7 separate regions of the Homo sapiens genome follow, and all the other regions are linked to region 7. Evidence: promoter capture Hi-C in human tissues and cell types (Jung and others, 2019). All regions are on one chromosome and are shown on one strand. Each heading gives the region's core, a stretch centred on a gene start or on the middle of the fragment in contact. The rest is flanking DNA. Distances are from core to core; before and after follow the strand shown. Region 1 overlaps FANCA (FA complementation group A). Region 2 overlaps FANCA (FA complementation group A). Region 3 overlaps ANKRD11 (ankyrin repeat domain containing 11). Region 4 holds the start of LOC128462377. Region 5 overlaps ANKRD11 (ankyrin repeat domain containing 11). Region 6 overlaps ZNF276 (zinc finger protein 276). Region 7 holds the start of RPL13 (ribosomal protein L13).

Region 1 (2,700 bases), core at 201-2,700, 240 kb after region 7:
CTCCCCCAGAGGGTCGTGCCAAGCCTGAGAGAAGAGCCCAGCACACCAGGGCCTCAAACAGTCACAACAGGGACTGAGGCCAGCTCTGTCCATGAAGATGAGGAAGGAATGGAAGGGACTAAGGTTTCCTGGGCCATCTGTGTGAGAGAACACGATGTTCTGGGGGTGAATGGGGTCACAGAGCCAGGTGGCAAGAGCACTTGAGGTCTGTTAGCCTGCCACATCCCAGCAGGCCTATACAGACCACCAAACCAAACCCAGACCCTCTCGTGAGGCTTACAACCTGCAACCAGCAAGCGGCACTTTATGCCGATTCCCCAGGTAAGAAAATCAAGGGTCCAGCCGGGCACGGTGGCTCATGCCTGTAATCCCAGCACTCTGGGAGGCTGAGGCGGGCAGATCACAAGGTCAGGAGATCAAGACTACCCTGGCTAACATGGTGAAACCCCATCTACACTAAAAATACCAAAATATTAGGCCAGGCGCATTGGCTCACACCTGTAATCCCAGCACTTTGGGAGGCCAAGGGGGGCAGATGACAAGGTCAGGAGCTCGAGACCATCCCGGCCAACCCAACGAAACCCCATCTCTACTAAAAAAATAGAAAAAATTAGCCGGGCATGGTGGTGGGCACCTGTAGTTCCAGCTACTCGGGAGACTGAGGCAGGAGAATGGTGTGAACCCAGGGAGCGGAGCTTGCAGTGAGCAGAGATCGCACCACTGCACTCCAGCATGGGCGACAGAGCGAAATTCTGTCTCAAAAAAAGAAAAATAAAAAAAATTAGCCAGGCATGGTGGCACACACCTATAGTCCCAGCTATGTGGGAGGCTGAGGCAGGAGAATCGCTTGAACCCAGGAGGCATAGGTTGTAGTAAACCGAGATCGTGCCACTGCACTCCAGCCTGGGCGACACAGTGAGACTCTGTCTCAAAAAAATAAAGAAAGAAAGAAAGAAAATCAAGGGTCCTGGCGGTTCAGTGAACTGCCCCAGGGTCACACACCCAACGAGGCCACGTCGGCTCTGTGCAAACTCAAGACACTCACACAACAGGGTGTGGGACATCGTGGAGATTCACTTCTCAGCCCTGCTGTCCTTCCTCACAGGGCAGGGCTTTGGGACACCACAGCCCCCAGTGTGCAAGGGAAGCTGGCCACCAAGACTGTTGGAGGATGTCTGATTTTAAATTATTGGCAGGCCAGGTGCGGTGGCTCACGCCTGTAATCCCAGTACTTTGGGAGGCTGAGGTGGGTGTTATCACTTGAGGTCAGGAGTTCGAGACCAGCCTGACCAATATAGTGAAACCCCATGTCTACTTAAAAATAGAAAATACAAAACTATAGGCTTGTGCCAGGTGTGGTGGTGCATGCCTGTAATCCCAGCTACTCAGGAGGCTGAGGCAGAAGAATTGATTGAACCTGGGAGGCAGAGGTTGCAGTGAGCAGAGATCTCACCACTGCACTCCAGCCTGGGCAACAAGAATAAAACTCTGTCTCAAAAATAAATAAATAAATAAATAATTGGCAACTAATTACAAAATATAAAAATCGGCAGGTCAGTGGTTGTTACCTGACTCTCAGGACATCAGTGTGAGTAATCTTATCACACAGATTATAAAAAAAAGCCCTTGCCACAGACTAAACTGTATCCCCACAAAGTTCCTCTGTTGAAGCCCAGCCTCTCAAGGTGGGGTGTTGATAAGGCTGAGGTGATGATGAGATGACTGCCCGGAGAAGACACCAGAGGGCTTGCTCTCCCCTCTCTACCTCATGAAGACACAGAAAAAGTAGGTCTCCTGCAAGCCAGGAAGAGGGTCCTCACCAGAACCCAACCCTAGGGGCACCCTGACCTCCAACTTCCAGCCTCCACTGCTGTGAGAACACATCTGCCGTCCACACCGCAGTCTCTGGCACTTTGTTACAGCAGCCCAAGCTAACTGATGCACATGTAAACATTCAGGAAATCACACAGTGCTTTATTCACTGTTTCAGTAAAAGTACCGAACGGTACAACACATTTAATTGAGCAGTTAAACAGTTACTGTGAGGGATGGGAAATGAGGAGCAAAATAAAGAATGAAAAGGTTGACAAGGCCTGGAAACAGTGGCAAATTCTACTGGTTTCTCAAGACTTCACTTCAAGGTCCCCTGCCCACACTAGAGGGAAGCAAACCCCAGAGCCCCATTTCCACCAAACCCCGATGTCCACCTTCCACCCAGCCCCCACTCCTCAGCTTCCGCCTCCCGACCTGTAAGGGTCTCCGCACATCTCCACAGAGCCATGGAGAGAAAAAGCTAATAGGGCCAAGCTTTGCCTACTGGTGAATCTGAGCAGGATCTGTGGAGGCCAGGCAGCGGGAGTCTGTAGAGGCACAGCTACAGTGTGTTCTAGAAATGTGGGGGGCTGAGAGGCAGGGCCAGCTCTAGAGCCTGAATCACACCCAGGGAAGGAGGAGCAAGGGGAGACTCCACACAGGAGGAGGTCACAGTGAGTGGGACAAACATTGGTGCAGGACTTCCAGAGGCGGAACAGGATACTGCAGTGGGCGCACCTTCCGACCTCATCCTCACAGGAAAAGGCTGACCAGAGCGTTCCCCGGGCTTTCCCATGGTCGCCTCCTCCTCACGCACGTTATCGTAACTGGCAGAGGAAGTGTGCTCAGGAGCGGGCTGCTGAAGCTCTGGAAGTGTTTAAAATATCT
Region 2 (3,873 bases), core at 1,374-3,873, 190 kb after region 7:
GGTTCACTTGGGCCCAGGAGTTCGAGACAAGCCTGGGCAACATGGCAAAACTCCGTCTCTACAAAAAATCAGCTGGGTGTGGTGGCGCACACAGGTGCACGCTGTCAGGATTGCTTGAGCCCAGGAAGTCAAGGCTGCAGAGAGATATGATCGCACCACTGTACTCTAGCCTGGGTGACAGAGCAAGACCCTGTCCCAATAATAATAATAATTATGATTACAATTAAGAGGAAAAAGCAGATGGTCTCACTGAGAAGGAGCCAGGTGGGTCTAGGGAAAGCATCTGGCTAAGGAGTTGGGAGGCCCCAGAGCTGGCGGAGGGAGAGACAGGGGCCTGGCACAGAAGACGCACGGGTGGCCAGCACCAGTAAATGCCTGTTGACTGACAGTGAACCCACACAGGTACATGCTGCCTACCTGTATAGACTTCAGGTGATCCACCAGCCTCGGACTCCCAAAGTACTGGGATTACAAGCCTGAGCCAACAATAAATATCTTTTTTTTTTTTTTGAGACGGAGTCTCACTCTGTCGCCCGCCCAGGCTGGAGTGCAGTGGCACAATCTCGGCTCACTGCAAGCTCCGCCTCCTGGGTTCATGCCATTCTCCTGCCTCAGCCTCCCGAGTAGGTGGGGCTACAGGTGCCCGCCACCACGCCCGGCTAAATTTTTGTATTTTTAGTAGAGACGGGGTCTCATCGTGTTAGCCAGCATGGTCTCGATCTCCTGACTGTGTGATCCGCCTGCCTCGGCCTCCCAAAGTTCTGGGATTACAGGCGTGAGCCACCGCGCCTGGCAATAAATATCTTAATAGCACGCGGCTTAAATGAAGTGAATGCACTGAGTTGTGGCACCCTCAAACTCACCTGCAATCTGGAAATAATATCCTCATTTCCTGTGCGGCCACCAAAGACCAAATCAGAATTTTCTGAGTGGTCATAACTCCTTGAGCTGAAATGAAAATACAATAAAATCCTCCTCAGTATCGCCTAATAGTGCTGAAGTTCCCAGTTCTCCTCCTGCCTCCGGAGCTGAGTGATGGCTGTGCTTCTCTGACAGTGTGACCCTCACATTAGTCAACAATAAACAACAAAAACTGCCACAAAATACTACCAACCCCAACCTAGGAAATACAAAAATTATGTACCATGACCAAGGAGGCTTATCCCAAGAATGCAAGGATGTGGGTGGCAAGCCACCCAGGCACCAAGGCAAGAGACAGAGGACACGAGCTGTTCCAGTATAATAAAATATAAAACAAGAATAGTTATACCAGATATAGATCTTAGATATGATTACATATGAATATCATTAATCATTAGTTGGTAGCAATTACTTTTTATTCCAATATTATGATAATCCTCACTCAATAATCATAGCCTAGGAAAAACCAGGCCATACAGAGATAGGAGCTGAGGGGATATACTGAGGTGTGACCAGAAGACAAGAGTGCGAGCCTTCTGTTGTGCCCGGACAGGGCCACCAGAGGGCTCCTTGGTCTAGCGGTGATGCCAGCGTCTGGGAAGACGCCCGTCACCAAGCGGATCGTGGTCCAGCGGTAGCAAAAGGTGTCAAGGAACAACACCCACTACTTAGCAGACCGGGAAAGGGAGTCTCCCTTTCCCCCGGGGAGTTTAGAGAAGACTCTGCTCCTCCACCTCTTGTGGAGGGCCTGACATCAGTCAGACTCGCCCGCAGTTATCCGGAGGCCTCACCGTCTCCCTGTGATGCTGTGCTTCAGTGGTCATGCTCCTAGTCCACCTTCATGTTCCATCCTGTACACCTGGCTCTGCCTTCCAGATAGCAGTAGCAAATTAGTGAAAATACTAATAGTCCCTGATATGCAGAAATAATGGCGTAAGCTGTCTTTCTCTCTGTCTCCTCTCCCTCTCTGCCTCAGCTGCCAGGCAGGGACGGGCCCCCTGTCCAGTGGACATGTGACCCACGTGACCTTACCTATCATTGGAGGTGACTCACATTGTTTACCCTGCCCCTTCTGCCTTGTATCCAATAAGTAACAGCGCAGCCCGACACTCGGGGCCACTACCGGTCTCCGCGCATTGGTGGTAGTGGTCCCCCGGGCCCAGCTGCCTTTTCTCTTATCTCTGTCTTGTGTCTTTATTTCTACACTCTCTCATCGCCGCACACAGGGAGAGACCCACCGACCCTCCGGGGCTGGTCCCTACACAAGGATAGCTTAAGATCCCCAAACCAATATAACGCAGTTATCAATAAAATAAAAAGCAAAAACCGTAAGATTATCTCAATAGATGTAGAAAAAGCACTTGACGAAATGTGACATCCTTTTGTGATAAAAACACTCAATCAACCAGGAACAAAGGAAATCTTCTCAATCTAGTGCCTGGCATGGATGAAAACCCACAGCAAACGTCAGATTTAATGAGGAAAGACTGAAAGCTGTTCTCCTAAGATCAGGGGCAACAAGGATGTCCTCTCTACACTCAGAACAGTGTCGCTGCCTCTACTCAACACTGCACTGGGGACAGACACGGTGGCTCACGCCTGTAATCCCAGCACTTTGGGAGGCCGAGGCAGGCAGATCATCTGAGGTCAGGAGATCGAGACCATCCTGGCCAATGTGGCGAAACCCTATCTCTACTAAAAATACAAAAATTAGACGGGCGTGTTAGCGGACGCCAGTAATCCCACCTATTGGGAGGCTGAGGCAGCAGAATTGCCTGAACCTGGAAGGCGGAGGTTGCAGACAGCTGAGATAGTGCCACTGTACTCCAGCCTGGGACACACAGCGACACTCTGTCTCAAAAACAAACAAACAAAAATTAGCTGGGCATGGTGGCGGGTGCCTGTAATCCCAGCTACTCGGGAGGCTGAGGCAGGAGAATCGCTTGAACCTGAGAGGCGAAGGTTTCGGTAAGCCGAGATTGCACCACTGCACTCCAGCCTGGGTGACAGAGCGAGACTCCGTCTCAGAAAAAAAAAAACAAAACAAAACAACAACAAAAAAAACAACACTGCCCGGGGAGTTCAAGCCGGGGCAATTCAACAAGAAAAAGAAAAAGCATCCAGATAGGAAAGGAAAAAGTGAAACTATCTCTCTTCACATATTATATGATCTTTCTTTTGTTTTTTTGTTTTGAGACTGAGTTTCACTCTTGTCGCCCAGGCTGGAGTTGCAGTGGCATGATCTCAACTCACTGCAACCTCTGCCTCCTGAGTTCAAGTGATTCTTCTGCCTCAGCCTCCCAAGTAACGGATTACAGGAGCCCACCACGATGCCCGGCTAATTTTTGTATTTTTAGTAGAGATGGGGTTTCACCATGTTGGCCAGGCTGGTCTCCAACTCCTGACCTCATGATCCGCCCACTTCACCCTCCCAAAGTGCTGGGATTACAGGCATGAGCCACCATGCCTGGCCAGACACGATCTTATATATACAAAGCCCTAAGGAATCGATACAAAAACACTCTTAGAACTAATAAATGACTAGAGCCAATGAATATACAAGAATCACTGGTGTTTCTATACGTTAGCAACAAATGATTCAAAAGGAAAGAAGACTCGCTATCACTGAGATGGCAATACTGCCCCACATGCAGTCCGTATCAGGGTCCCAGCTACTTTTGTCGAAACTGACAAGCTCATCCCAAAATTAAGACACAACTACAAAGCACCTAGAAAAGCCAAACCATCCTGAAAAAGAAGAACCAAGTTGGAGGCCTCACACTTCCCAATTTTAAAACCTACTACAAAGCTTCATCCCAATGACGCAGTGCATATGGACATACAGACCAAGGGAACACAATGAGAGCCAGAAACAAACCCTCACACGAGCAGCCATCTAACTTTTGACAAGGGTGCCAAGACCATTCAGTGGGGAAAGAAGTGTTTTCAACA
Region 3 (3,738 bases), core at 40-2,539, 180 kb before region 7:
CCAACAGTGAGGGAGGACTGTGACCATACAGGAACATTTCTAGAGAAATGACAAAGCACTTCGTAAGTTACACCAAATGCGCCTGCCTCTCCTGCCTCCCCTTCTACCTCTTCCACCCCCGCCCCATGAGAACAGCATGACCACCCCTCCTCCTTCTACTCAATGAAATGATGAGGATGAAGACCTTCATGATGACCCACTTCCACTTAATGAGAAGTAAACATATTTTCTCTTCCTTATGATTTTCTTAACAACACCTTCTTTTCTCTAGCTTACTTTACTGTAAGAATACAGTATACAATACATACGACATATAAAATATGAGGGGCATGGTGGCTCACACTTATAATCCCAGTGCACTGGGAGGCCGAGGCGGAAGGATCACTTGAGCCCAGCAGTTTGAGACCAGCCTGGGCAACATGGCAAGCGAGACTCTGTCTCTTTAAGAAGCGGGAAAAAAAGTGCTTTGTATATGTCAGTGTTGGATTAAAATGTGTTGACTGTTTATGTGATCAGGAAGGCACTGGTCAACAAAATTAAATACTCGGGGTATAAAAGGTTATATGTGGACTTGACTGTACCAGGGGTCAGTGCCACTAATCCCCAAGTTGTTCAAGGACCAAACATATATAATGATTTCATCAACGTGTATGTCAACCATATTGATTAGGTCAATATTGATTTGTAATTCTTGATAATAATTTCAAATCATGGCATTGAAGCCTAACCACAAAAACCTCCTCAGAAAATAGCAAAAACGTAGAGCTTTAAAGATATTAAGCTAAATGTACGTGCTATAAGGCTACAGATACAGCAGGCTGGAAATAGTCTGGCTGAGAACACACAACTGGCCAGCATGACTAGCAAGTGCTCAAGTAGCTTCTCTTGTTTGAAGACACTGGTGTACACAAAGATTTCTGCCTCCTGGGTTCAAGCAATTCTCCTGTCTCAGCCTCCCGAGTAGCTGGGATTACAGGTGTGTGCCACCATGCCTGGCTAATTTTTTGTCTGTGTATTTTAGTAGAGACGGGGTTTCATCATGTTGGCCAGGCTGGTCTCAAACTTCAGGCGCTGTGGTTTAAAACTCTTTTATCCATGTTTTAAGGGGTTGATGGGTGGGGCGAGGTGGGGAAGGGCTTTCCAAGGCTGAAAACCTCTTCAGGGGTTGGTGGGTGGGGCGAGGTGGGAAGGGCTTTCCAAGGCTGAAGACCTTTTTGGGTCAAGGTTCTGACGGCACACTGGGGAGCGTCAAGACGCCTCCTGCAGTCGTAGACAAGCCGGGCTGAGGCATTCACTGTCGCTTAGAACTGAAAACTTAGGGTCGTCCATGCCCAGAACGTCGGCAGTGCGGACCAGCCCCAGGAAGGCCTTTCTCACTGGCTTCTAGAAGGTGGGGCCGGCCCCCATGCCTGCCCCGGCACACGGCCATTCTGGGAGCTGCTGGCAGCCGGCGGGCTAGAAGGGGTGCACACCGTCTGTATGTGCGTCACAGGCTCATGCTTTTTTAATCCTATCTTGAAAACTTAGGGCTTTCTCACAAAGACCTTGTGCCAGTTCCTAAGTGGAACAACAATTTTATAAAATAATTTTAAATGGCTCAAATCAAGTGTTACCAGTGAACGGGGCTTTCATTATATGTCGAAAGCTGACCATGGGGAACAGGCCCACAGGGGCCTCCTGCTCCACACCCTGTCAGGGCATCCAAAACCAGCTCATGTAACTCTGCTTTCCAGGAGTCCAACTTGAACATTTTTTTAAAGAGACAAAGTCTTGCTCTGTCGCCCAGACAGAGCTCAGTCACGGCTCACTGCAGCCTCAACCTCCTGGGCTCAAGTGACACTTCTGCCTCAGCCTCCTGGCTCCAACTTGAGCTTACAGTTTTCTGCTCCACCACTGCTCTCTGCCTCCCACCTCCAGGTGACTGGGACGCGAGCGCCCCAAGCAGCACGGAAGAGCTCCGTGCAGTGCACGGATTTGCGAAGAACGTGTTGGTTCTTGTGATTCACAAAGAACTTGGACTGAGTACAACGGGCAAAGAAGATGTCAGCTGTATTTTTAACATTCTGTTCAGCAAGAAGAGTATACATAATAATTTCCCAAAAAATATAATTTTTGAAAATGCAGAAAAATAAAAAATTTAGAAAGAAATACATGGCTGCAGACACTGACCTTTTCAGTTTTCCAATCATCATTTCTCAAAACACACACTTTCATCTCTATTTACCAAACACTATTTTCTGCATCTCCAAACCCCTCAAGCTTCAGTCCAGGTCCAAGTATCAATGGGTATATATGAAGCTCCTCTGCCACCAGAAATTCACTATGGAAAGATGTTATTTCTGGTACCCCAGTTGCAAAACAATGATGCCTGTTTTTTTCTTTTTGAGACAGAGTCTCATTCTGTCACCCAGGCTGGAGAGCGATGGCGTGATCTCGGCTCACTTCAACACCCACTTCACAGGTTCAAGCAATTCTCCTGTCTCTGCCCCCCGAGTAGTTGGTATTACAGGCATGTGCCACGACGCCTGGCTAATTCTGTATTTTTAGTAGAGATGGGGTTTCTCCATGTTGGCCAAGCTGGTCTCAAACTCCTGACCTCAGGTGATCCACCCACCTCGGCCTCCCAAAGTGCTGGGATTACAGGTGTGAGCCACTGTGCCCAGCCCAATGATGCCATTTTAACTCCTTTTCTCCTAAGTGGATTAGAGCTCCCTGAGCCTTCAGATAGCTTCCTTGGGGCTACTCCAGAGAACGACCAGCAGTCTCCACCTGCATAAGAAACGGGACACAGGGCACGAAGAGCAGCCCCAGGACCTGCCCGCTGCCTTGGGACTTGTGAAAGCATTTTTTGTGTAATGCCAAACAGGTCTTTGTTAAAAGACAATAACCAATAGGAGACAGGCTTCTAGATCTGCAGAAACTCTAGAAATAAATGAAGGAAAGCCTGACGAGTACCTGCCTGCTTTCCAGGGAAGAGAAGTGAGCAAAGGCAGAGAAGAAGCTGGAGGCCTCGTGGGGCATCTCCTGCACGGGCAGCAGGGCTGCGTAACCACCACGAGCACTGGGGCTTATGGGAGGAAGGAGTGTGTGCAGTTCCGGCCCCAAAGGTGACCAGGCCTACACGGGGCAATGCAGCTCAGAGGTCGTGGGCAGAGGACAGCTGAGGCAGGCAGACGGAGCACGCATCCCTGCTTCCCAGTGTGGGCCCACTCTGCTGGGCAAGGTTCTAAGGGGCTCCGAGTGAAGCCCCTGAGCACACGGTAAACAATCGATCCAAAAAGGGATGAGAAGGGCGGCTGGGCGAGGTGGCTCAGGCCTGTCATCCCAGCACTTTGGGAGGCCGAGGCAGGTGGATCATTTGAGATCAGGAGTTTGAGACCAGCCCGGCCAACATGGCGAAACCCTATTTCTACTGAAAATTAAAAAATAAAAATAATAAGCTGGGCATGGTGGTGTGCACCGGTAATCCCAGCCACTGGGGAGGCTGAGGCAGGAGAATTGCTTGAACCCGGGAGGCGGAGGTTGCAGTGAGGCGACAATGCGCCACTGCACTCCAGCCTGGGCTACAGAGCGAGACTCTGCTGCAAAAAAAAAAAAAAAAAAAAAAAGGGGTGAGAAGGGCAAGCAAGAGTTCAGACTATTAGAAGCAAGACACCAAGAAACTCCCAGACACCAACACCTACCAGTTTAGGGTTATTGTATAAGGAGCAAGAGCTTTTCACATTGTAACAGCCCCAA
Region 4 (3,619 bases), core at 676-3,175, 140 kb before region 7:
AAAAGTGACAAATGGCATTAAACACCTTAGATTATTACTGTGGCATGGTCAAAAATGCCAACATTTCCTATGTCATCAAACCTAAGTATCAGTACATCTATTGTTCTCAATCCACTAGAGTGCTAGACATTTAGGCCAATTCCAGGTCCTGTCAGCAGAGTTGCTGATAGCTTGCTCCCCTTTAATCAGAGAAGCCTGTATTTTGAATCCATCGATTTTTTTTTTTCCCCAGAGACAGAGTCTTGCTCTGTCGCCCAGGCTCAAGTGCGGTGTTGTGATCTTGGCTCACTGAAACCTCCGCCTCCCAGTTCAAGCAACGCTCCTGCCTCAGCCTCCCAACTAGCTGGGATCACAGGCATTCGCCACCACGTCCGGTTAATATTTACATTTTTAATAGAGATGGGGTTTCACCATGTTGGCAGGCTGGTCTGGAACTCCTGGCCTCAAGTGATCCACCCACCTTGACATCTCAAAGTGCTGGGATTACAGGCGTGAGCCACTGTGCCTGGCCACTAATTGCTGATTAATAATTTTATTTTTCACACTAGTAAGCAGCATTTTGGCCAGGTGTGGTGGCTCACACCTGTAATCCCAGCACTTTGGGAGGCTGAGGCAGGAGGATTGCTTGAGAGCAGGGGTTCAAGACAGGCCTGGACAACGTAACAAGACTCTGTTTCTACAAAAAAAAAAAAAAAATTAAAAAAAGAAAATGCAGCATTTTGCTTTTCCTTGTCATACATTAAGGTCAGCAGTATCCTTTTCACAAAGAGGCACAGCTCAGACCCTGGGGTGTGGGGTGCTCCCTCATCGCTGCCCCCCTTTTCCCATGTACCTGGCCCCTCCATGGCACCCCTTTTATCACAACCAGGCTCAGTCCACCTCCAGATCTTGAAAAATGTCTCACCTGATCACAAACATGCCCACTACCCAGGCTGGCTTCATTCTAACTACAAACCATCCCACAGATTAAGAGAAGACAATTCTAGACCTATTTTCAAGGATATCTCAGATTCCCTTTCCTTCAAACCTCACCTCTATTTCCAAGGAAAGAATTCAGTCATATGAAAGAAAGCAGTCAGGTGTATTTTAAAGTGGCCTGACTCCAGGCGACTGAGATAAGGAACAGATACACCAAACTATGAAGCTCCCGAAAGAAGCTGCAGGAAAGGTTCTTTCACGTTTGCTGGGAGTAACAACACAAAACAGATTATGTATTTTTGGAATGTTCACTTTAAAACCATGACTCACACCTGGCCAAAATATGAAAATTTAATTTAGCCAAGTTTTCTCTTCAACTGCTGTCAATCCACATATCAGAGAAAATAACCTGCCAGTTCACCATGCGTCTCTGGAAGGAGGGAGGACTCTGCCCTACAGCGACACGTGCTTGCTCAGAGCCAAGGCCAAAGTCTTTTTGGAGACTGCTGCCGCTCCTCTCAAAAAACATGCCAGTGACTCCCAGGAGGAGGCAAGGAGTCAGGGCTGGCGAACCAGGCTCCCACTCCTTACCTGCCAACCATACACACTGGTCTCCAGCTCCTAGGAAAAGCCAGAATAGCCATCTAGAGGGTTCAGCAACAGCACTATGCCCAGAAGCACAGGACAGCCCGGCGAGACCACCAGGAACCTAACAAGAGCACAACAGCTCCCAGGATACAGAATCCTCATCCAAGGACAACCCAGCAAGACCACCAGGATCCTAACGAGCAGAACAGCTCCCAGGATACAGAATCCTCATCCAAGGACAACCAGGCAAGACCACCAGGATCCTAACGAGCAGAACAGCTCCCAGGATACAGAATCCTCACGCAAACTGTTAACACAACATGCTCAGAGCACACAACACACAGCACAGGGTGGGGGTCTCAGTCATCACCAGACCATCTGAGGATGAAGAAAATTAAAGGAGGACAAGAGGAAATAAACTTCTTTTATAGGCTATTAACAACCTATTTAATTTTTCAGCAGATTTCTTCTCACTGTGACACCAAGGATCCCATTCATTAATCCAAAAATGCTTACCTGTTACCACTCTGAATACACTCTAAGTGAAATCCAGAACAAAATTCACAACATTTCGACAAAACTCTATCAAGTCCAAGAAAACCAACCTGGACACTCACGCATTATTTTGATACTTATTTTTACAAATCAATGACAAAAACATAAATTGATAGAGAATGCAGTGAGTATTTACCGATTCCATAGCTGAAAGTCAGTGCTGACGAGGACTGTCTTTTAAATCCAATGGAGGTGTGTCCCAGAGCAGGGCTGTATATATTCTGAAACAAGAGAGTGAGATTAGCTCATGTCAATAATAATTTCAGCCTCAGTTCTTTCATCGCTCTCGTCTCCCTCCATTTGGTCCACACGGTTTATTCCATCGCCCTTCCTCTCCCATGACCCACTGCTCAGCTCCTGGTCACTGTGCCAAGGCCAAAACTTAACTTCATTCATCAAATACCTTTACGTCACAATGCAGCAATTGCAACAACTTAAAGGTAAATCCAAAGTCCAGCACAAAAAAGAGTAGATGACACTGATACAATCTTGTGAAATCACCATAAAACCAGATTTTAGAGGCTCTGGGGCTTTTTATACGTAAGAAACCAAATAACCCAAGTGGGCAATCTCGCCACAGAAACAAAACATTACCAGTAAGCTAAGTTTTTAAAAGGCCTTTTTTTTTTTTTTGGAGACAGAGTTTCACTCTTGTCCCCCAGGCTGGAGTGCAGTGGCGTGATCTCAGCTCACTGCAACCTCCACCTCCCCTCCTGGGTTCAAGCGATTCTCCTACCTCAGCCTCCCGAGTAGATGGGATTACAGGCGCTCGCCACCCACCCCCGGCTGATCTGGACCTCCTGACCTCAGGTGTTCCAATCACCTCGGCCTTCCAAAGTGTTAGGATTACAGGCGTCAGCCACCATGCCCAGCCTTAAAAGGCTAATTTTAACTTTAAGAAGCATATTAAGTTTTAAACTACATAAAAGGTGCAAAAAAAGATAAGGTGGTTTTCATTTCCACTGAGTATTTTAAGAGGAAAAGATTATACTGCAGTACCATTTTTTTAAAAAGCTGAATAAAGCCATGCATGGTGGCTCACGCCTGTAATCCCAGCACTTTGGGAGGCCGAGGTGGGCGGATCACTTGAGGTCATGAGTTCAAGACCAGCCTGGCCAACAGGGCAAAACCCCGTCTCTACTGAAAATACAAAAAATTAACCAGGTGTGGTGGCTTGTACCTGTAACCCCAACTACTTGGGAGGCTGGGGCAGGTGAATCACTTGAATCTGCGAGGCAAAGGTTGCAGTGAGCTGAGACTGCACCACTGCACTCCAGCCTGGGTGACAGAGCGAAACTCGTCTTAAAAAAAAAAAAAAAAGGCAGCTGAATAAAACTATATAATTTCCCTGAAGAGCTCTGGGGACTCCAAGAATAAAACAAACCAGTCTAAATGGGGGAAAAAAAATCTATACCCATGTTACTTCAGTCCCATCCAAACATCAGGCTCTCCTCCAACTCCAAACACTTCCGTGTGCAGAACCAGGGAAGGAAGCACAGACAGGATTGAAGGCAGCTCCCAGGACAGGGCTTGCTGGTGCAGGGTTCCCCGGCTCTGC
Region 5 (3,607 bases), core at 572-3,071, 210 kb before region 7:
CTATAACTGCTTATTGGATGAACATGCGACATATCTACCCCCTAAAAAGCTACTCAGTAAACTACTGACATACACCACAGAACCCAGATCAATCTCAAAAGGAAGATGAAACACACCAGACACAAGAGTCCACACTCAATGATTCCATTCATATTAAATTCTAGTAAAGCAAAAGCTACAGTGACCGAAAGCACATCAGCATCCTGGGTCCAGGAAATAGGATGACATGCTGCTGCAAAGAGGAAAGGGGGAACTTTCTTGGGGTGATGGAAATACTACTCTGTATCATGACTGTGATGGTGGGAACAAGACAGTTCCAACTGATTCCTTAAAACTCTCACATCTGTAGTCATGAGCAACATGATGCTCATGTTGAGTGTGGTCAACAGGCCACATTCATGATGGTGGTATGTGCTACCATAAGATGCTAATGGAGTGGAACGGGTCCCATGGCATAAACACCTACCACTGTGTTACGATTTCTTTCCACGATTCAGCAGGGTGACTCAGCAACAGGCTCTACCATGTAGCTTAGGTGTGTGGGAGGCTCTGCCTTCTGGATCTGGGTACGCACACTCTGTGATGCTCAGAGGACAAGATCACCTAACAACGCATTTCTCAGGATGCATCCCCCGACCGCTATTAAAATTGATGCATTCCAAAGTATTTAAACTGTACCTCAAAGAAGCTCTCAGAGAGAATGCACGGGAGTGGACGATGGCGGGCACAAGAGCTCGTCAAGAGCACTGTTGTGAAGAAAAGCAGAGAGGCGGCGGCGGCAGCTGGTGGTGGGCATGGGCGAGGGGTTCCACGGCAAAGAATGAAATTGAATGCCCATCACCCCACGCCCACAGGCCGCCAAACACATCTGGAAAAGCAGAATACATTCCTGAAGGGGATGGCATCCATGGCCCTAGGGAAGGAAGACCAGATCCCAACAGGAGCAGGATGAGGCTGTCCTTGATACTGAGCAGGTGGCTGACTTCACCACACACCCTCCACTACCTCCGCAAATCACTCCAGGCATTCATTACCCACTACACCAAATAACTGATTCTCATTTCATAAATATACGTATTCAAAGAGGATCCTAGCGAACTTTTTCAAGAAAACACTGGATACAGACTCTCGGGCAGGTCTGTAAGTTAAGGCATGGAGACGAAGCTTCTCTCTGTGTTTGGCATTGAGGCAATGCTGCTGTGGGCACTGCAGACATAGGCCCTGTGACCTGGGCGCAGGTTCGTGTCATGCCACACAGCATGCAATTCCATGGACACAAAATGACCAGAACAGCAGACTCAGAGAGGACGCAGAGGCTGCAGGGGGAACAAGGAGTGACGATTAAAGGTCCAAGTTTCTTTCTGAGGTGACAGCAATGTTCTAGAACTGACAGTCCTGGTGGTTGAACAGACCCGTGAATACACTAACAACCTTTGAACTGTGCGCTTTATCTGGGTAAGCCTACGGTCTGTCAATCCTCTCAATCAAGCTGGTATTATCTCTTTTTTGGAGACAGTCTCACTCTGTCGCCCAGGATGGAGTGCAGTGGTGCGATCGTGGCTCACTGCAATCTCTGCCTCCCAGGTTCAAGCAATTCTCACGCCTCCGCTGAAATGACAGGCACAAGCCACCAGGCCCAGGTAATTTGTGTAGAGGCGGGGGTTTCAACATGTTGGTCAGATTGGTCTCAAACTCCTGACCTCAAGTGATCCGCCTGCCTCAGCCTCCCAAATGCTGGGATCACAGGCGTGAGCCATTGCACCTGGCCGATTATCTTCTTTGAAAAGCATGAGACACGTTTCCCTAGGGATGGAATGCTGGACACGAGACAAGACTTGTCCTAAGGACTGGATCTCACAGTGGCCAGGTATGCATCACGCCACGCGGTGCAGAGCCCTGGGGGAAGGCAAGTCAAGAAGCCAGGGGTCTAGGCACCGCAATGTCTCAAGGCAGCCCCCCAAGAAAACCAAGCAGAAGGCCACAGTGACGCCCTCCTGCTCTCAGGTCAGTGGCAGGAGGGCACTTGCTGATGCTGGGCACAGAGGAATGTCAGGGCAGATCTTCAAGGCTCACACCCTTCAGAGCTTCTGGCAAGCTCAACACAGTGAGCGAGCCCTGCCCCCAAGAGTGAGGCCCCTGTCAGGGCCACTTCCTCTCGCCCTGGCCCATCCAGATCTCACACACACTGTGGTAGATCTTTGAAGGGTAAAAGCTCTGTCCGCTCCACTCATCAGCACCAAAGTGTTCTGTGCCTGGCCCTTCTCCACCCAATTCACCAGTTTATTGAAGCCTCAGCTGGGTGAGTCCCGCTTGCCTCTGAAAATGTGTGTGCTCAGCCAGGCAGATTCTTGAGTGCGTTTCCTATGTGCTGCTGCCCTCCTTCAAGATGACCACATGGGCCCCCAAGCAGGGCCCCTACCTGCTTTGTCAGCATCTTGTCCTTTCCCTCTTTTCTCTCACGGCTTGTTCTACTTCACGGCATGTTTAAGCAAAGGGGGTCACTACAACAAAATTATTTTAAAACAAACATACTTCAGAAAAGTTTATGGAAAACATTAAACCTTGAATATATTAACTTTACAGGATCCATTTACTTCACCCTAACACTGAGTTAAAATTATAACAAGAGAAAGTAGGGCTGGGCGCGGTGGCTCACGCCTGTAATTAATCCCAGCACTTTGGGAGGCCAAGGCAGGTGGATCATGAGGTCAGGAGTTCAAGACCAGCCTGGCCAATATGGTGAAACCCCGTCTCTACTAAAAATACAAAAATTAGCCGTGCATGGTGGCAGACGCCTATAATCCCAGCTACTCAGGAGGCTGAGGCAGGAGAATTGCTTCAACTCAGGAGGCGGAGGTTGCAGTGAGCCAAGATGGCGCCACTGCACTCCAGCCTGGGTGACAGAGTGAGACTCCAACTCCAAAAAAAAAGAGAGAGAGAGAGAGAGAGAGAAAGTAAACAAAGTTTCTATTTATTTCTCCAGAGGATCTCAAAAGTAGAGCTGGAAATACCAGCAGTAAGAGGAACACCAGTCCAAGGCAACTACAAGGAACTGGTCACTTTTTCATTTTTTTGAGACAGAGTCTTACTGTGTCACCCAGGCTGGAGTACAGTGGTGCAATCTCGGCTCACTGCAACCTCCGCCTTCCGGGTTCAAGCAATTCTCCTGCCTCAGCCTCCCTAGTAGCTGGGATTACAGGCATGCACAACCACGCTTGCCTAATTTCTTTGTATTTTTAGTAGAGACAGGGTTTCATCATGTTGGCCAGGCTGGTTTCGAACTCCTGACCTCAGCTGATCCGCCTGCCTGGGCCTCCCAAAGTGCTGGGATTACAGGCGTGAGCCACTACGCCCGAACTGGTCACATATCTTATGGAACATAATGTTTTTCATGATCAACAGCCACTATGGGAACACAACACACATCAGCCCTGAGACACCCGAAACAAGACAGAGCAGCCTCTGCAGCCTCTCATGCAGGGAGCGTGGGGCATGTCTGCCACAGGGTGAGGGGCGGCGGGCAGAGATGGAGACATAAAGGCGGAGCTGGCTTCCAGCCTTGTGAACCAGCCCAGCTGAATGCCCCAAGTCTGTAAATAATTGATGG
Region 6 (3,709 bases), core at 47-2,546, 170 kb after region 7:
GTCCGGGAGCGGCCCTGCCCCCACCCTGGCTGCAACAAGGTTTTCATGATCGACCGCTACCTGCAGCGCCACGTGAAGCTCATCCACACAGGTACGCCTATCGCCAGTGTCGCCCACGCGGGTGACAGCCAGGGGCACGTGACCTGCTTTCCAGTCTTCCTCATACCCATCCCCGCCCCAAGAGTTGGGGGTGCGTGAAGGTGGCTCATGGGGTCTTTGGTACTCAGTCACGTTGGTAGATGAAGGCTAGAGTAGGGCGTCAGTGTGAATCTGCCCTTCCCTGTGATGGAAGGAATTCCTGACTTCCCCAGGATCTAGGCAGTTTGTCAAAACTAATAGCCAAGCAATCTTGGTGTCCTTTTGCAAATTGGTCATTTTATTTTTTAATTTTTTTTTGAGACGGAGTCCTGCTCTGTTGCCCAGGCTGGAGTGCAGTGGCACCATCTTGGCTCACCACAACCTCTGCCTCCCAGGTTCAATCAATTCTCCCGCCTCAGCCTCCCAAGTAGCTGGGATTACAGGCACCCGCAACCATGCCTGGCTAATTTTTGTAATTTTTGGTAGAGACGGGGTTTCACCATGTTGGCCAGGGTGATCTCTAACTCCTGACCTCAAGTGATCTCAGCCTTCCAAAGTGCAGAGATTACAGGTGTGAGCACTGCACCTGGCCCAAACAAGTGTATCTTAAAAGGCAAGGCAGAAGGCATGAAGGCACACCAGCTCTGGGGAGCTGCCCACGTGGACAGGCGGGAGGCACGTGTGGTTCTGCCTTTTCACATGTGTGTAGGTCGTGTCATTAAGACCGGAGGCGGATGGGGGAATTATGACTGAGGGTGCTGTCTCTGTGCCCGTCTTATTTTTCACAATTTCTATAATGCACAAGTTACTTTTATAATCCAACAAGGATATGTTTTCAAAATGACAAACTTGGCCGGGCGTGGTGGCTCACACCTGTAATCCCAGCACTTTGGGAGGCTGAGGTGGGTGGATCACCTGAGGTCAGCAGTTCAAGACCAGCCTGGCCAACATGGTAAAACCTGGTCTCTACTAAAAATACAAAAATTATCTGGGTGTGGTGGCACACGCCTGTAGGCACAGCTACTTGGGAGGCGGAGGTGGAGGTTGCAGTGAGCCGAGATCACACCACTGCACTCCAGCCTGGGCAACAGTGAGACACTGTCTCAAAAAAAAAACTTGTTTGAACCACGTGGACCCACATATCCATGGTCAGGGACTCGAATCCCTGGTATTCAGAGGGCTGCCTTTTCCTAAGTGCAGGTTCTGTAGGGTCTTTGCAGGGCTAACTTCGGGACTTCAGTATGAGCAGATTTTGGTAAGGGGTGGGGGGGGGCCTGGAACCAGCTGAGGACAACTGTATATTGATCCTTACACACACAGTTTTCCTTGGTTTTGAACTTATTACAGAATAAGAATTATTTATTCTTACTTGAATTTACTGAAGTATTTTTTCATTAGGATTGCTTTTCACTGCTGGGTCATCTCCCGACATGCGGGTTGTTATTTTTTGGGTTCTCCGACATCTCTCCTGATGGCAGCACTTCCTTGGGTTTGGTCCTTCAGACTCTGCATCTGTCCGGTCACTGATGGTCACAACCAGCAGTTCCTTAAAAACCTGAAATTGGGCCGGGTGCAGTGGCTCATGCCTGTAATCGCAGCACTTTGGAGGCTAAGGCAGTAGGATTGCTTGAGGCCAGGATTTTGACACCAGCCTGGGCAACATAGTGAGGCCGTCTTTACCAAAAACTTTTTTTTTAATTTATTGATGGAAACAGTCTCACTCTTATCACCATGGCTGGAGTGCAGTGGCGCGATCTTGGCTCACTGTAACCTCCACCTCCCTAGTTCAAGCAATTCTCCTGTCTCAGCCTCCTGAGTAGCTGGGATTACAGGCATCTGCCACCACGCCGGGGGTGTTTTTTTTTGTTTGTTTGTTTGTTTTTTTGACTGAGTCTTGCTCTTGTCGCCCAGGCTGGGGTGCAGTGGCACAATCTCAGCTCACTGCAAGCTCCTCTTCCTGGGGTAAAGCCATTCTCCTGCCTCAGCCTCCCAAATAGCTGGGACTACAGGTGCTGGCCACCACACCCAACTAATTTTTCGTATTTTCAGTACAGACGGGGTTTCACCACGTTAGTGAGGCTGGTCTCAATCTCCTGACCTTGTGATCCACCTGCCTCGGCCTCCCGAAGTGCTGGGATTATAAGCGTGAGCCATGACGCCTGGGTAATTTTTCTATTTTTAGTAGAGAGGCAGGTTTTGCTATGTTGGCCAGGCTGGTCTCGAGTTCCTGACCTCAGGTGATTTGCCTGCCTTGGCCTCCCAAAGTGCTGGGATTACAGGCATGAGCCACCGTGCCCAGCCCCCAATTTTTTTTTTTTTTTCCGGGACAGTCTGTGTCGCCCAGCCTGGAGTGCAGCTGTGCAATCTCAGCTCACTGCAACCTCCACCTCCTGGGTTCATGCAATTCTGCTGCCTCAGCCTCCCGAGTAGCTGGGACTACAGGTGTGTGCCACCACACCTGGCTAATTTTTGTATTTTTAGTAGAGACAGGGTTTTACCATATTGATTGGGCTGGGGCTGGTCTTGAACTGACTTCATGATCCGCCTGCCTTGGCCTTCCAAAGTGCTGGGATTGAGCACTTTGTGTAAGCCACTGCACCGGCCCCCCAAATTTTTTAAATTACCTGGGTGTGGTGGTGCACACCTGTGGTCCCAGCTACTTGAGAGGTTGAGGCAGGAGGATCACTTAAGCCTGGGAGTTCCAGGCTATAGTGAGCCATGATTGTACCATTGCACTTCAACCTGGGCAACAGAGCAAGACCCTGTCTCCAAAAAAAAAAAAAAAAAAAGAATCCCTTGAACCTGGGAGGTGGAGTTTCCAGTGAGCTGAGATTGGGCTGTTGCACTCCAGCCTGGGCAACAGAGCAAGACTCAAGTCTCAAAAAAAAAGAACAGCGTAGAGTAAAATGCCAAGATAGGGTTTCCCTTCGAAGAGAAAAGTCTGTCTTGTGAAGCGTTTCAGGGCTTGACAGATGTGGAGGCAGCACAGGGTGAGTGGGTCTGCATGTCCACATGTGGCATTTGTGGACTAGCAAGTGAGATCTCTTTGTTCAAGGGTGTGAGAAAGATTTCCAGAGCCAGTACAGCAATGCATACCCCCAGACCCTGGGTATGGACCCCTCTCATATGGAGATGAATTCTAGAGAACAGCCATAGCTGTGACAATCAGTATTCTATACAACCTTAGTGATACGGCTTCCTTTAAGAATTTGTAGGCCAGGCACGGTGGCTCACACATGTAATCCCAGCACTTTGGGAGACCGAGGCAGGCAGATCACAAGGTCAGGAATTCAAGACCAGCCTGGCCAATATGGTGTAAACCCTGTCTCTACTAAAAATACAAAAATCAGCTGGGCGTGGTGGGGGGCGCCTGTAATCCCAGCTACTTGGCAGGCTGAGGCACAAGAATCGCTTGAGCCTGGGAGGCGCAGGTTGCAGTGAGCTGAGATCACGCCACCGCACTGCAGCCTGGGTAACAGAGCGAAACTCCATCTCAAAAAAAAAAAAAGACAAGAATCTGTGGTTAAGGAAATAGCTTTCTGAGGTTTCTTTAAAAACCATCCTGAAATGCACACAGCTGATGAAGCCACGTGACAGTGTATAAAGCAGTTTAAAGATCTTAATAAACGAG
Region 7 (3,828 bases), core at 1,329-3,828:
GCATCTCTGAGAGATGCCTTGACCTTTGCCCCAGTTCTCCAAATCCAAAGACCAGCACATCGATGGGAGGGTTTTAGCTGGTGTAGCCAAGGGTAGTGTCCTCGGTAATTGTTTTTTTTTTGCTGTTGTGTTGGTTTTTGGCAGAGTCTTGCTCTGTCGCCCAGGCTAGAGTGCAGTGGCGCCATCTCGGCTCACTGCAGCCTCGATCTTCTGGGCTCAAGCAATCCTCCTGACTCAGCCTCCCAAGTAGCTGGGACCGCAGGCACGCACCATTATGCCCGACTAATTTTTGTACTTTTTGTAGAGACAGGGCTAGACTCGAATTTCTGAGTTCAAGTGATCCTCCTGCCTTGGCCTCCCAATGTGTTGGGATTACAGGTGTGAGCCACTGTGCCAAGCCTTTTGTGAAATTAATTTATTATTTTTTAATTATTATTTGTTTTTGGAGATGGAATCTTGCTCTGTAGTCCAGGCTGGAGTGCAGTGGCACGATCTTGGGTCAGTGCAACCTCCGCCTCCCGGGTTCACGCCATTCTCCTGCCTCAGCCTCCCAAGTAGGTGGGACCACAGGCGCCTGCCACCACGCCCGGCTAATTTTTTGTATTTTTAGTAGAGTCGGGGTTTCACCATGTTAGCCAGGATGGTCTCGATCTCCTGACCTCGTGATCTGCCTGCCTTGGGCTCCCAAAATGCTGGGATTACAGGTGTGAGCCAGCACGCCCAGCTCTTAAATTTTTCATTTTTGAGACGGAGGCTTAACTCTGTCACCCAGGCTGGAGTGCAGTGGTGCAGTCTCGACTCACTGTAACCTCTGCCTCCTGGGTTCAAGTGATTCCCCTGTCCTACTCTCTGGAGTAGCTAGGATTACAGGTGTACACAACCACACATGGCTAATTTTTGTATTTTTAGTAGAGGCGGGATTTTGCCATGTTGGCTAGGCCGGTCTCCAACTCCTGACCTCAGGTGATCCACCCGCCTCGGCCTCCCAAAGTGCTGGGATTTACAGGCATGAGCCACCGTGCCTGGCCTGTGAAATACTTTTTTTTCTTTTTGAGACTGAGTCTTGCTCTGTTGCCCAGGCTAGAGTGCAGTAATGTGATCTTGGCTCACTGCAACCTCTGCCTCCCCAGTTCAAGCAATTCTGGTGACTCAGCCTCCTAAGTAGCTAGGATTACAGGCATGCGCCACCACGCCCAGCTTTTTTGTATTTTTAGTAGAGACAGGGTTTCACCATCTTAGCCAGGGTGATCTCAAACTCTTGACCTCGGCTGATCCGCCCACCTCAGCCTCCCAAAGTGCTGGAACTGTGAAATTCTTAAAATGTGGATTACGTTGGCCAGGCACGGTGGCTCACGCCTGTAATCCCAGCACTTTGGGAGGCCCAGGCGGGCGGATCGCGAGGTCAGGAGATCGAGACCATCCTGGCTAACACAGTGAAACCCCGTCTGTACTAAAAATACAAAAAATCAGCTGGGCGTGATGGTGGGCGCCTGTAGTCCCAGCTACTTGGGAGGCAGAGGCAGGAGAATGGCGTGAACCCGGGAGGCAGAACTTGCAGTGAACAGAGATCGCACCACTGAACTCCAGCCTGGGCAACAGAGGGAGACTCCGTCTCAAAAAAAAAAAATAATAATAAGTTTTACCAGGAGGAAGCGTGGTGATTGGGTGAGGGTAGGGAAGAAAGAGGGTTATTGGGATTTAAAGGTTTCCAGGTAGCAGTAAGATGGATGGTGCCTTCACAGACTTATACTAGAGAAGAGATGGCTTTTTGTTGATGCTTTTCTTTGTGAAGGAAGGCAGTAGGCACAGCAGGTCAGAGTGTGACATTTTCAGTCGGGTACCCCTGACCTTAGAGAAGTCACCTAATCCTGGGCCAAGGGAAAGCGACAGAGGCCAACAGTAACTCCGTCTACTAAAATACCAAAAATTAGCAGGGTGTGGCGGCGGGCGCCTGTAATCCCAGCTACTCGGGAGGCTGAGGCAGAATTGCTTGAACCTGGGACGCGGAGGCTGCAGTGAGCCGAGATCGCGCCATTGCACTCCAGCCTGGGCGACGGAGCGAGACTCCGTCTCCAAAAAAAAAAAACAAAAAAAAAAACCACAAATGTTCTAAATGGATGGGAGGAGAATAAACGCTGGAACGACAAGGACGAAGGCCTTAGGTTGCGCAAACTCGGATGTCACTGAAGTTTTTCTGCCTTTGCGCTGCAAACGTGTCTCACAAATGTGAACAAACAGAATTCCTCGGGCGTCGCCCGTTCGCCGTCGGCCCAGATACCGGACTCGCGCGCGTTAGCCCGCAAGACAGGACTCGGCCGCGGCCCGCGCAGCGGCTGAAGCGCCGGGGCAGTAACGGCGGACGTCAAGCAAGTCCGGCCGTCGGTTACTCAGGGCCCAGGAATCACGGCCGCCCCGCCGCATTCTCAGCGGCAACATGTCTGCGACGGCGGCCCTAGGGCTGCCGGGAGAGCCGCGGCGACGTCAGTTCCTCCTTTCGGGGCTCTGATTGGTCAGAGCGCCCGGCGCTTCTGGTTGGCCGGCCCTGCTATCATCCCAGAGTGCATTGCGGGGCCGCTTCCTTTCCGCTCGGCTGTTTTCCTGCGCAGGAGGTGAGGGAGACTGGGTCCTGGCCTTTGGGCATCATCCAGCGCCATCGGCCTGGCGCTTCAGCCAACGCGGGAGTGGATGGGCCCCTTCTTCTTCGCAGACAGCGTTCGGCCGCTGCCCGGGCTCTAGGCGCGGCCGGACGGCCCAGTCTGGAGGGTTCGGGGCGGAGGCCCGGGGGGGTGCGCGCGCCCGGGGTCCGGCCTCTCACTCGCTCCCCTCTCGTCCGCAGCCGCAGGGCCGTAGGCAGCCATGGCGCCCAGCCGGAATGGCATGGTCTTGAAGCCCCACTTCCACAAGGACTGGCAGCGGCGCGTGGCCACGTGGTTCAACCAGCCGGCCCGTAAGATCCGCAGGTGAGCCCTGCGCTCGGGGCTGCCCCTGGGGCTCGTGCCCGCGGCTGCGCCTTGGCTTGCGGGTGGCCGATGCCAGGGCGGGGGGCGCTGTCTGCAACCGTCGCGGAGCGCTGGCCTGGCGGCCTTAGGCAAGGGTGACCGCCGCTGCGCTTCTCTCCACCAGACGTAAGGCCCGGCAAGCCAAGGCGCGCCGCATCGCCCCGCGCCCCGCGTCGGGTCCCATCCGGCCCATCGTGCGCTGCCCCACGGTTCGGTACCACACGAAGGTGCGCGCCGGCCGCGGCTTCAGCCTGGAGGAGCTCAGGGTGAGTACTGGCAGCGCTGCGGTGTCAGGAAGGCCCCGAAGTCCCCTCTGTTGGCCTCAGTCGCGTGATGACATTCTCCGGAATCGCTGTACGGCCTTGATGAAAGCACATTTGAACCCTTTTCCATCTGATTGCTGAGGCTTTTCATCCAGGCCTCGGGGCTGGAGAAAGCCCGGGCCTGTCTCCATCTCTCTCTGGTTCTGGGGCAGGTGGCCGGCATTCACAAGAAGGTGGCCCGGACCATCGGCATTTCTGTGGATCCGAGGAGGCGGAACAAGTCCACGGAGTCCCTGCAGGCCAACGTGCAGCGGCTGAAGGAGTACCGCTCCAAACTCATCCTCTTCCCCAGGAAGCCCTCGGCCCCCAAGAAGGGAGACAGTTCTGTGAGTACACGGCTCTCTGGCCGTCCTGGTGCGCGGGGACAGTGAGGCTTGGCTCCTTTATCAGTGACACCGGTCCCTGGGTCTTGCTGGGGTGAGAAGAACCAAAACATTGTGGGTGATGAGCTAAGCGGGACTGCTAAGGTTCACCTGTGCGTTTCCGCAGAGATAACCTTAATGGAC

Evidence for each region. The method cuts DNA at HindIII sites, captures the fragments that hold promoters and counts their contacts. A contact is called where the count stands out against the background at its distance.
Region 1: a contact is called between a fragment that was not itself captured here and the fragment with the promoter of RPL13 in region 7, in 3 of the 25 tissues and cell types used here (H1 embryonic stem cells, IMR-90 fibroblasts and ovary).
Region 2: a fragment that was not itself captured here is called in contact with the fragment with the promoter of RPL13 in region 7 in 2 of the 25 tissues and cell types used here (heart left ventricle and pancreas).
Region 3: a contact is called between a fragment that was not itself captured here and the fragment with the promoter of RPL13 in region 7, in 4 of the 25 tissues and cell types used here (H1 embryonic stem cells, dorsolateral prefrontal cortex, heart right ventricle and 1 more).
Region 4: a contact is called between a fragment that was not itself captured here and the fragment with the promoter of RPL13 in region 7, in 4 of the 25 tissues and cell types used here (aorta, hippocampus, liver and 1 more).
Region 5: a fragment that was not itself captured here is called in contact with the fragment with the promoter of RPL13 in region 7 in 8 of the 25 tissues and cell types used here (IMR-90 fibroblasts, bladder, dorsolateral prefrontal cortex and 5 more).
Region 6: a contact is called between a fragment that was not itself captured here and the fragment with the promoter of RPL13 in region 7, in 2 of the 25 tissues and cell types used here (heart right atrium and lymphoblastoid cells).

The regions. Positions count from the first base shown.
Region 1 is chr16:89,796,401-89,799,100 of GRCh38, forward strand. All of the region lies in intron 10 of FANCA (FA complementation group A), which reads right to left. Among named protein-coding and RNA genes, the nearest start is that of FANCA, 19 kb to the right of the region's middle. The HindIII fragment of the contact is 7,196 bases long and covers 1-2,700 here.
Region 2 is chr16:89,751,275-89,755,147 of GRCh38, forward strand. It overlaps FANCA (FA complementation group A), which reads right to left. Exons shown (of 43, transcript NM_000135.4): 31 at 864-948. Among named protein-coding and RNA genes, the nearest start is that of ZNF276, 32 kb to the left of the region's middle. The HindIII fragment of the contact is 5,421 bases long and covers 1-3,873 here.
Region 3 is chr16:89,377,747-89,381,484 of GRCh38, forward strand. The region is part of intron 2 of ANKRD11 (ankyrin repeat domain containing 11); the gene reads right to left. All of the region lies in intron 1 of LOC128462377, which reads right to left. Among named protein-coding and RNA genes, the nearest start is that of ANKRD11, 110 kb to the right of the region's middle. The HindIII fragment of the contact is 8,223 bases long and covers 1-3,738 here.
Region 4 is chr16:89,416,087-89,419,705 of GRCh38, forward strand. ANKRD11 (ankyrin repeat domain containing 11) reads right to left here. Exons shown (of 13, transcript NM_013275.6): 2 at 2,198-2,282. It overlaps LOC128462377, which reads right to left and starts at 2,206. Exons shown (of 2, transcript NM_001416403.1): 1 at 2,198-2,206. The coding sequence starts at 2,206. RefSeq lists an enhancer at 3,487-3,619. The HindIII fragment of the contact is 5,031 bases long and covers 1-3,619 here.
Region 5 is chr16:89,350,422-89,354,028 of GRCh38, forward strand. All of the region lies in intron 2 of ANKRD11 (ankyrin repeat domain containing 11), which reads right to left. All of the region lies in intron 1 of LOC128462377, which reads right to left. Among named protein-coding and RNA genes, the nearest start is that of ZNF778, 130 kb to the left of the region's middle. The HindIII fragment of the contact is 8,829 bases long and covers 1-3,607 here.
Region 6 is chr16:89,733,948-89,737,656 of GRCh38, forward strand. It overlaps ZNF276 (zinc finger protein 276), which reads left to right. Exons shown (of 11, transcript NM_001113525.2): 9 at 1-91. It overlaps FANCA (FA complementation group A), which reads right to left. Exons shown (of 43, transcript NM_000135.4): 43 at 3,602-3,709. Among named protein-coding and RNA genes, the nearest start is that of ZNF276, 14 kb to the left of the region's middle. The HindIII fragment of the contact is 4,696 bases long and covers 1-3,644 here.
Region 7 is chr16:89,558,104-89,561,931 of GRCh38, forward strand. RPL13 (ribosomal protein L13) reads left to right here and starts at 2,579. Exons shown (of 6, transcript NM_000977.4): 1 at 2,579-2,609; 2 at 2,837-2,960; 3 at 3,124-3,265; 4 at 3,475-3,648. The coding sequence starts at 2,857. SNORD68 (small nucleolar RNA, C/D box 68) reads left to right here and starts at 3,327; the gene lies at 3,327-3,398. RefSeq lists silencers at 1,021-1,240, 2,782-3,051, 3,112-3,161 and an enhancer at 2,562-2,671. The HindIII fragment of the contact is 11,945 bases long and covers 1-3,828 here.